3 separate regions of the Homo sapiens genome follow, and regions 1 and 3 are each linked to region 2. The links are contacts of gene promoters, found by promoter capture Hi-C in human tissues and cell types (Jung and others, 2019). All regions are on one chromosome and are shown on one strand. Each heading gives the region's core, a stretch centred on a gene start or on the middle of the fragment in contact. The rest is flanking DNA. Distances are from core to core; before and after follow the strand shown.

The links. The method cuts DNA at HindIII sites, captures the fragments that hold promoters and counts their contacts. A contact is called where the count stands out against the background at its distance.
Region 1: a fragment that was not itself captured here is called in contact with the fragment with the promoter of PRICKLE4 in region 2 in 1 of the 25 tissues and cell types used here (lymphoblastoid cells).
Region 3: a contact is called between a fragment that was not itself captured here and the fragment with the promoter of PRICKLE4 in region 2, in 1 of the 25 tissues and cell types used here (mesenchymal stem cells).

The regions. Positions count from the first base shown.
Region 1 is chr6:42,108,744-42,111,443 of GRCh38, reverse strand. C6orf132 (chromosome 6 open reading frame 132) reads left to right here. Exons shown (of 5, transcript NM_001164446.3): 3 at 1,153-1,228. Among named protein-coding and RNA genes, the nearest start is that of C6orf132, 33 kb to the left of the region's middle. The HindIII fragment of the contact is 5,795 bases long and covers 1-2,700 here.
Region 2 is chr6:41,779,427-41,782,126 of GRCh38, reverse strand. PRICKLE4 (prickle planar cell polarity protein 4) reads right to left here and starts at 1,345. Exons shown (of 8, transcript NM_013397.6): 1 at 1,301-1,345; 2 at 607-777. FRS3 (fibroblast growth factor receptor substrate 3) reads left to right here and starts at 2,227. Exons shown (of 7, transcript NM_006653.5): 1 at 2,227-2,311. RefSeq lists silencers at 1,562-1,631, 1,912-2,321, 2,352-2,501. The HindIII fragment of the contact is 3,550 bases long and covers 209-2,700 here.
Region 3 is chr6:41,415,673-41,418,372 of GRCh38, reverse strand. No RefSeq gene overlaps it. Among named protein-coding and RNA genes, the nearest start is that of NCR2, 81 kb to the right of the region's middle. The HindIII fragment of the contact is 3,118 bases long and covers 1-2,700 here.

The DNA.
Region 1 (2,700 bases), core at 32-2,531, 330 kb before region 2:
GGGCATGGTGGTGCACGCCCCTGTAATCCCAGCTACTCGGGAGGCTGAGGCAGGAGAATTGCTTGAACCCAGGAGGCAGAGGTTGTGGTGAGCAGAGATCATGCCATTACACTCCAGCCTGGGTGACAGAGCAAGACTCCATCTCAAAAAAAAAAAAAAAAAAAATTAGCCAGGAATGGTGGCACACATCTGTAGTCCCAGCTACAGATGGGAAGATTGCTTGAGCCACGAGATGGAGGCTGCAGTGAGCCATGATTGCACCACTGCACTCCAGCTTAGGTGACAGAATAAAACCCTGTCTCAATTAAAACAAAAAAAAATTCAAGTTCATCACTTTTTATTTTTCTGTAAACACCTAATGAAAACTAAGAACACACAGGAGGCCAGGCTGAGGAGTTTGGCTTTTCACCTGTGGACCTCCATGGAGAGTCAATGCAGATTCTATTTGTTTGTTTTGTCTTTTTCATCGAGATGGAATTCATATACAGTCAATCCTCCCTATTTGTGGATTCTGTATTTGCAAATTTGCTTAGTGGCTAAAACGTATTTGTAACCCCAGAATCAATGCTTGTGTTGCTTCTGTGGTCATTTGCAGACATGCACAGAGCAGTGAAAATTTTGAGTTGCTCAATGCACATGTTCCCAGCTGAACAAGAGGATTCTATGCCTTCTTGTTTTAGCTGTCATACAAAAACAAGTGTCTTTTTCTGTTTAGTGTCATGTGTTATAGTGCTATCGGCCATGAGTTCAATGTTAACCAACCAACAAAATATATTAAAATGTCTTTAAGCAGAAACACAGCTAAAACAAGGTTATGGTTATGTATTGATCAGTTGACAAAAATCTTGTGACCAGAGGCTCATAGGAACCTAACCCTGTATTTCCCCTAGGAGCAACGGGTCAGTATTTACTAATACTATGTTCATTGCAACTTTATAGAACATAACTATGACAAATAGTGATGATTGGTTGACTGTACCACAAGATTCACTTTTTAAAATCAGCCTTTTATATTTTGGTATATGCACAAGGTTATGCAACCATGACCGTCACTGCAGATTTTCAAGCAGTAAAATGGCCTCAAAGAGCAGCAGTTTGAGAATTATCTGTCCATCTTTCCCTGTCCCCTGATTTCTTTCTGGTCTCTTTCAGAATGCCCAGGAAAACCATGGGCTGGCTGTGCCCACCCCCTCGGTTCCAGATGATTTTGCAGACAAAGAAGTGACAGGTAAGTGAACCCTGGGCTTGGGGCTTGTCCATCTTTCTTTCCTCCTAGGGCCCTGAGTTCAAAAGCTAAGCATCTGCTCATCTTCACAGCTGGTGACAAAGCCAGAGTCCTCAGGCACAGCCACTCTCGCCATCCTCAGTCATCTTGATTACTGGCCGCAGTGGGCTAGGGCAGTGGGGCTGGGAGTTGAGGAGAGCCACGGTCAGTGAAGGCCCCTTTCTGGCGGGGGAAGGATGGCAAGGGGACAAAGCCAGAGCAGGAACAAGTGCAGCATAAAGTGGAAGAAGGGCCTGGCTTTGAATCCCAGCTCCCCACATATTCACTTTGCTCCCTTGGGCAAGACACTTCACCCCTCCTACCTCTGTATCTTCCAACGAACGATGGGAACAACAGTTCAGTTTGGAGGAGTAAATGAAGTGGTGGATGGGATGTATGTCATGTCTGTCACACCTCTCAGAGGTGCTTCAAACTCACTAATGGCTTCCCGTGTCACTCAGAGAAAAGGTTCTTGCAAGGACTGCTGGAGTCTGACCGGAGTCTGGCCACTTTGCTTGCTTGCTTTCCCCTCCCACACTGCCCCGGCCACAGCATCTCCTGTTGCTCCTGAAATACCCCAGGCACATTTCCGCCTTGGGGTCTTTGCACTGCAGACCTCTCAGGTTAGAATGCTCTTCTGCGAGGCATCTGTGTGGCCGTCTCCCTCACTCCTCCCTTCTTTGCTCAAATGTCACCTTCTCTGCGAGGCCTTCTCAGACTGCTTTATTTATTTATTTATTTATTTATTTGAGATGGAGTCTCGCTCTGTTGCCAGGCTGGAGGGCAGTGGTGTGATCTCAGCTCACTGCAACCTCTGCCTCCCGGGTTCAAGCAGTTCTCCCACCTCAGCCTCTGAGTAGCTGGGACCATAGGTGCACACCACCATGCCCAGCTAATTTTTGTATTTTTAGTAGAGACAGTGTTTCACCATGTTGGCCAGGATGGTCTCTATCTCTTGACCTCGTGATCCACCTGCCTCAGCCTCCTAAAGTGCTCGGATTACAGGTGTGAGCCACCGCACCCGGCCGGACTGCCCTATTTAAATTGCACCTGCTGCACCCCTCCCCTGCTGGTGTTTTTTCCCATCGCACTCATCCTCTAATGTGATAATAATGTACTCACACATTATGTTCATTGTCCCGTTCAAGCGTAAGCTCCCTAGGAGGACCAGTGTTTGTCTGTTTTTTGTTTTGTTGGTTTTTTTGCTGCTGTACCCCAGCTCCTAAGTCCTGCCTGACAGTTGGGTGCTCAGTGAATGTTAGTTTTCCCCTTCCCCACTCTTGGTTTCTTCAGTTTGAAGTCAGGCAGCTGGGAGGAGCCCTTCAGAGCCGCACACTCCCCAGGTTCGCCACACTGTTAGGGACTGAGAGGAGGGGAGCAAAGGATGGGTGCCCCTAAGAAGGAAGTAGACTCTGGGAGAGGGGCTGGGGACCTGG
Region 2 (2,700 bases), core at 96-2,595:
CACTGCACTCCAGCCTGGGCAACAGAGTGAGACTCCGTCTCAAAAAAAAAAAAAAAAAAGCGACTATTAATGTAGAGAAGAGATGAGCCCCGCCCTCAAGGAGCTCATAGTGGGTAAGACAAAGATGAAACCAGGTAGAATGGGATCAATCAGAGCTCGGGACAGACATACAAAAACCCTGGAGAAAAAAATAACCAGAGCAAACTTTTTAATAATATTTACTCTGTGCCAAGGACTCTTCTAGAATATTACATAATATAGTCCATCCTCACAATAATCTTATGAGGTAATCTCTTTCATTCCACTTGACAGTTGAAACAAGTTAATTAACTTGCCCAAGATCATACCAGAGGCTAAGGGAAGCCTTAGGGGGACCTGGCTTCTGAGAGCTGGGATAGATTCTGAAAGTAGCTGGGCACAGGAGGGTCATCATCAAATCCCTGGCCTCTAAGACTGGGCCAGGGATTCGTACTGGGGTTGAGGTGAGGGTTTGGACTGTAACAGTTAATATTGCTTCCCAGCACTGAACCCTCCTCAGCACCGCCCCTCCACTCCCACTTCAAATGTCCTGTGCCACCCTTCCCTCCTTCCTGGCTTCACACCCACCTGCTTCCTTCCTCTTCTGTCCTTCAGGTCAGGTTTCCTGTGGAAGGTGGCCAGGATGGGCTGTTCACACCAGGAGTAGCCACTAACAGCACTGCCCCTGCTCCAGGCAGCAAGAAAGGAGGGGGCGTCTGGGGCCCCAGGAGGGGACTTGCACCCTCTTCCATTTTGGCTCTAGTTTGCATAGAATTGTCCAACACAGAAACAACACTCAGAAATCAGGCCTCTATTCCTCACCCTTCCAATCTCCCCAAAGGCAGCCAAACTCCACCTCCACCTAGCACTGGAACACCCTTACTAACAGGCCAGCTGGATTCCTTCCATAATTCCCTTCCCCCTCCCACCTCAGATAAGGGACAGAGCTGAACCCCTTGTCTTGCCTCCGTGCAGAGCCTCCGTGCAAGAGGGCTCAGGAGCTGGACATCCCCAACACCCGCTGCCCTGAAGGGCAGAGCCCGAGAGGACTTAGGGCTTGGGGAGGTGGAGGGATGGGAAGATTTCTGGGGACAGTGGGAGGGAGAAGGAAGGGGAGTGCCCAGTCCCGCCAACTGCCCTCTCGATAGATCCCCAGAGTTTTTCTGGAACTTGGCGGGCCCGCCTCCGGGGCTGGGACGCGGTGTTTCCCGAGTCCGCTGGGGTTCCCGGTCTGGCTGCTGGGATTTTAGGGGAGGGGACCAGGACTCCGCTGGGGTCTCACCCTCGCTGTGCGTCGCTGTCCGGGCAGTTCTGGACCGACTCTGCCGTCAGGCCCCTCACCCGGTCCCCACCCCAAGGCTTCAGCGCCCGCCCCCGTCCGCCCCCGCCCGCCCTAATAGCGCGGCCCTTCCTCTCCCACGCCCCAGCGGCCCCCGCCCGCCCCTCCCCGGCTGGTGGAGAGGGGCGGCTCAGGGAGGGGCCTGGAGCTGCAGATTGGGGGGAGGAAAAAAAAAAGGAAAACAAAACCACATTTATGGGATCTCAGGGTGGAAATGTGCGGGCTCCATGGCCTCTGCCATGCAGGTGCAAGGGCTCTCTGGCTCGGACTGCGCCCGGCAGGCATCCAGCAGACGCCGGGAGCCGCGTTTACGCTGGGTTTTCAACCATTCGCTGAATGGAAACGCCTCGCCGGGCCCGCAGCCCTGTCTCTCCGCAGTTCCCAGGTCTCCCCAAACTCTCCCTGTGGTCTCCCAGCCCCGCTCCTCCGCGTGTTTCCCTTCAGTTCTCTCCCCCTTGTCCCCAGTGGTCCCCCTGGCCCCTTCCCCTCCCCTCAACCCTCTTCCAGGTTCCATCGTCTTGCCCTTCTCCTTTCAGGTCCCTTCAGACCCTCTCCCCTTCCCTTCGTTTCTCGCCCAACCCTCCGTCCCCTTTCCGCTCCCCGGACCACCCCCAACTTTGGTGTCCTCAGCCCCGCCTCCGCGCCCCGCCTCCGCCGCAGGCTCCGCCCTGTCCCCTCCGGGCTTGCTCAGCCCCTGGCCAGGAGCGCCCTCTGGCGTCTGCGCATGCTCACTGCTCCCGACTGCAAAGTCCTCCAAAGGGACCTTCTAGGCTGCGTGCCGGTCGCCCCCGCTCGGGTCCGCCAGCCCGCAGCGTCTCGTTGGTGCTGCCGGTGACCTCCGACCCCGCGGCCGCGGGGCGGGGCGGGGCGGGGAGGCCTTAGCTCCGGGCGGGCGGCGGCTGCTGCAGCGGGACCCGGGAGCGGGGCCCGGCGCCGCCCGGGCCGCGGGGCGATGTGAGTCGGGGCGCGGCGGGGCGGGGACGAGGCGGCTTCACCGAGGCCGCGCCGCGCCGCGCCGCGCCGCGCCGCAGTCTCCACTCCCTCCCTAGGAAGCCCCGGGCGGGCGGGCAGGCGGCGGAGCACCGGGGCTGGGGGCGGGGATCCGGGGACAGCGCGCACCCAGACCTCCTCATTCCTTACGGGCATGTAGAAATTCCCCTTGACAGTCCTGTAGCCTGTCCTGCAGCCTCTGGCTCCCCCAACCCACCTCTACCCTCTCCGCCCTGGACACATCATCGCATCTCCTGGAGCCCTCAGAACCCCCTCATTCACTCAACAAATCTCCTGCTATGCCCACGGACCCACCATTTCTCTTGGATGCCCCCAAATGCTTCCACTGCCCG
Region 3 (2,700 bases), core at 60-2,559, 360 kb after region 2:
ATGGTAGGGGTAGCAGGAGCGAAGGTAGAGAGGAGAGTGAGGGGCAGACTGCGGGAGACTTTGAGTCCAGCTTTAGCAATCTGGACTTGATCCTTCCAGGCAAAGGGAAGCTATTGATGGTTTCTGACAAGGGAAGGATGCCATCTGGGCTATGTCTTAGAAAGAGACTCCTGGTAGTGGTGTGCAAGTGGGTTAAAGAGAGGGAGACAGTTTAGGAGGCTGTTGTCACAATTCAGCCATGAAATGGGGATGTCCTGAACCAGAATGGAGGCAGAGGGAAAGTACAGGGACTGGCAGCCTGGAGAGGGAATTACCGCAAGCTCTAGGGGAGCCCTTGCCTCCTGCCCATCTGACCCACCATGGCTGGCTGCTGGCTTCTGCCCTGGCTTCCTCCCTTCTGGGCCAGCCTTGAAGTCTGTATTCAGGGAGGGGCAAGGCACCAGGGAAGCACAGGGCCAGCTCCACAGCCAGAGCCTGGACTGGATCCTGCCTGGTCTTACCTGGACCAAAAGGAGCAATTCTGGAAGCTTGGCTGTGGCCCAAGCCGGGCTATGGGCCTGGAGTGGCAGATTGTGAGCAGGGACCCAGCACTGACTCTGTGTGTGTGTGTGTGTGTGTGTGTGTGTGTGTGTGTGAGTGAGAGAGAGAGAGAGAGAGAAAGAGAGAGAGAGGCTGAGAGGCTGAGAGTGTGTGACAAAGAGGAAAGACGGAGGACCATATGCCTATTTTCTTTGAGGAACAGCTGTCTCCTCAAGTGGGTGAGAGAGTCAGTAAGAGAGGGGAAGTGGGGTTAGAGGGTCAGCTCCACATTCACAAATACATTGTCACAGGGCCCTTGTATGTGAGTCAACTTTTCTAATTTTCCAGATATGTTCCTTTTTTTCCCTCCCTTTCTAAATCTTTCCTTTTCCACTTCTTTTTCCTTTCTCTCTCCCCTGAGCTCACACACTCACACACAGCCTCAGGGCTGGGTATTCCTCTGTCTGAGGGTCCTGGAGAGGGGTGGGATGGCCACAGAGCAGGTAACTTTCTCTGTTCCACCCCTGCTGGGACTTGCCCTGGGACCACACCCTCCCCTCCTTCCCTCTTCCAACAAATACTGAATGCTCTAGGTGCTGGTCCAGGCCCAGGGACAAGCTTATTCTAGAGTCCCCCTTACCCAGTGCCTTTGCTTTGGAAGAGTGGGACAGGAAGGGACATCTTTGGCTTAATGTTCAGGGATAAAGTACCAGAAGAACGAGCTCCCTCGGTGCTCTTTTCTGGTTTGCCCCTTCTCTTCCTGTTGTCTGCTCTTCCGTCCCACTTTTTTTTAGGTGAGAAGAGCAGAGAAACTGGAGTCAGAGAAGCCGGGGTTCAAATCCCAGTTCTGCCTCTTTCAAGCTGTGGGATCTGCAGCAAGATGCTCCACCTCTCTGACAAAGACTGGAATAACCTTCATTTCTGGAGGTTGGGAGAATTAAACGGGAAAATCAGTCTAAATGCCTGGCAAAAGCACCTCTGTCTGTTTTTCTTCTTGTTTCTTTTTCCTTATCCCATTTCCTTTATTCATTAAGGAACTGCTTACTTAATGAAGGAGGCTTCGTTGTGCTGGAGCCGGAGGAGAGGAGCAGGGGTCCTGGTTGAGGCACCGCAGGAAACAAGACTCCAGCCTGAGCCTCACAGCCTCACAGCCTCCTCCCTTGGGCCCCTGCCTTCATCATGTCCTGTCTTTATCCTTCAGGAAGTGGGGAGCCAATGAAGGTTTCTGAGCAGGGGAGTGACTGAATCTCAGACCTGTGCTTTAGCACCTATGATCTGGTCGGGTGGGGTACTGGGGGGACTGGGACATGGTGTGTGTGTCTGGTGGGTGGAGGGAACGGGGCCGCAGGAGCCTGTCATGCCCTCCTTTCCTCCACCTTCCTGTGTCCTTCACCGTGACTCTCTTCTTTCCCCCTCTGTCTCTCCTCCGCTCCCTCCATTCCTCTCTCCCCTTCAGCTCCCCCTGCGGCTTGCCAGCTGCCAGCAGATGACATCTCCTTTCATGTTTGGGGCTGAGCACAGCTTTGAATGTTCGTTTGATTCCGTTAAGATAATAGCTGGTTCACTGTCAGATGCAGACTGATCAGTTAAAACCTTAATCACTGCCTGTCTCCTCACTCGGCACTTATTTTTTAAGAGATTAATCCCCTCAGCCCTGCTCCAGCTCACATTCAGCTTGGAAAAAAAAAAAAAGGCAAGGTTTGTGTTATTCTTGTTATTATTATTGTTATGATTGTCACTCTCATTATTCTGCGTATTAACTCTGTCCCTCTCTGCCCTTTCAACTATTCTTTCTTTTTTCTCCCCCGTGGTTTCCCAGTCTTCCCCTCATCTCACTTGTATATTCTCTCTCTCTCTCTCTCTCTCTCACACACACACACACACACACACACACACTCTGATGTGGCTTTCCAGATCCAGTGTGAGATATGTCCAGATATTGATATAGTGTGAGTATATACAATTCCCCTGCACACACCTTCCCTACCTCCACGTGCACACCCGGGTGTTCAGCACAGGGACAGGACACAGGACACAGGTCCAGGCACCCAGGCACATGTGGTCCAGGGAAGCCAGGAGATACAGCTCTGTACCATGGGCAGAGTCTAATATTTGGGATCAGGCACATGTGCCCTGATTCTCTCTCAGAGACTCGCTTGCTTTGTGACCTTGGAGAGAAGT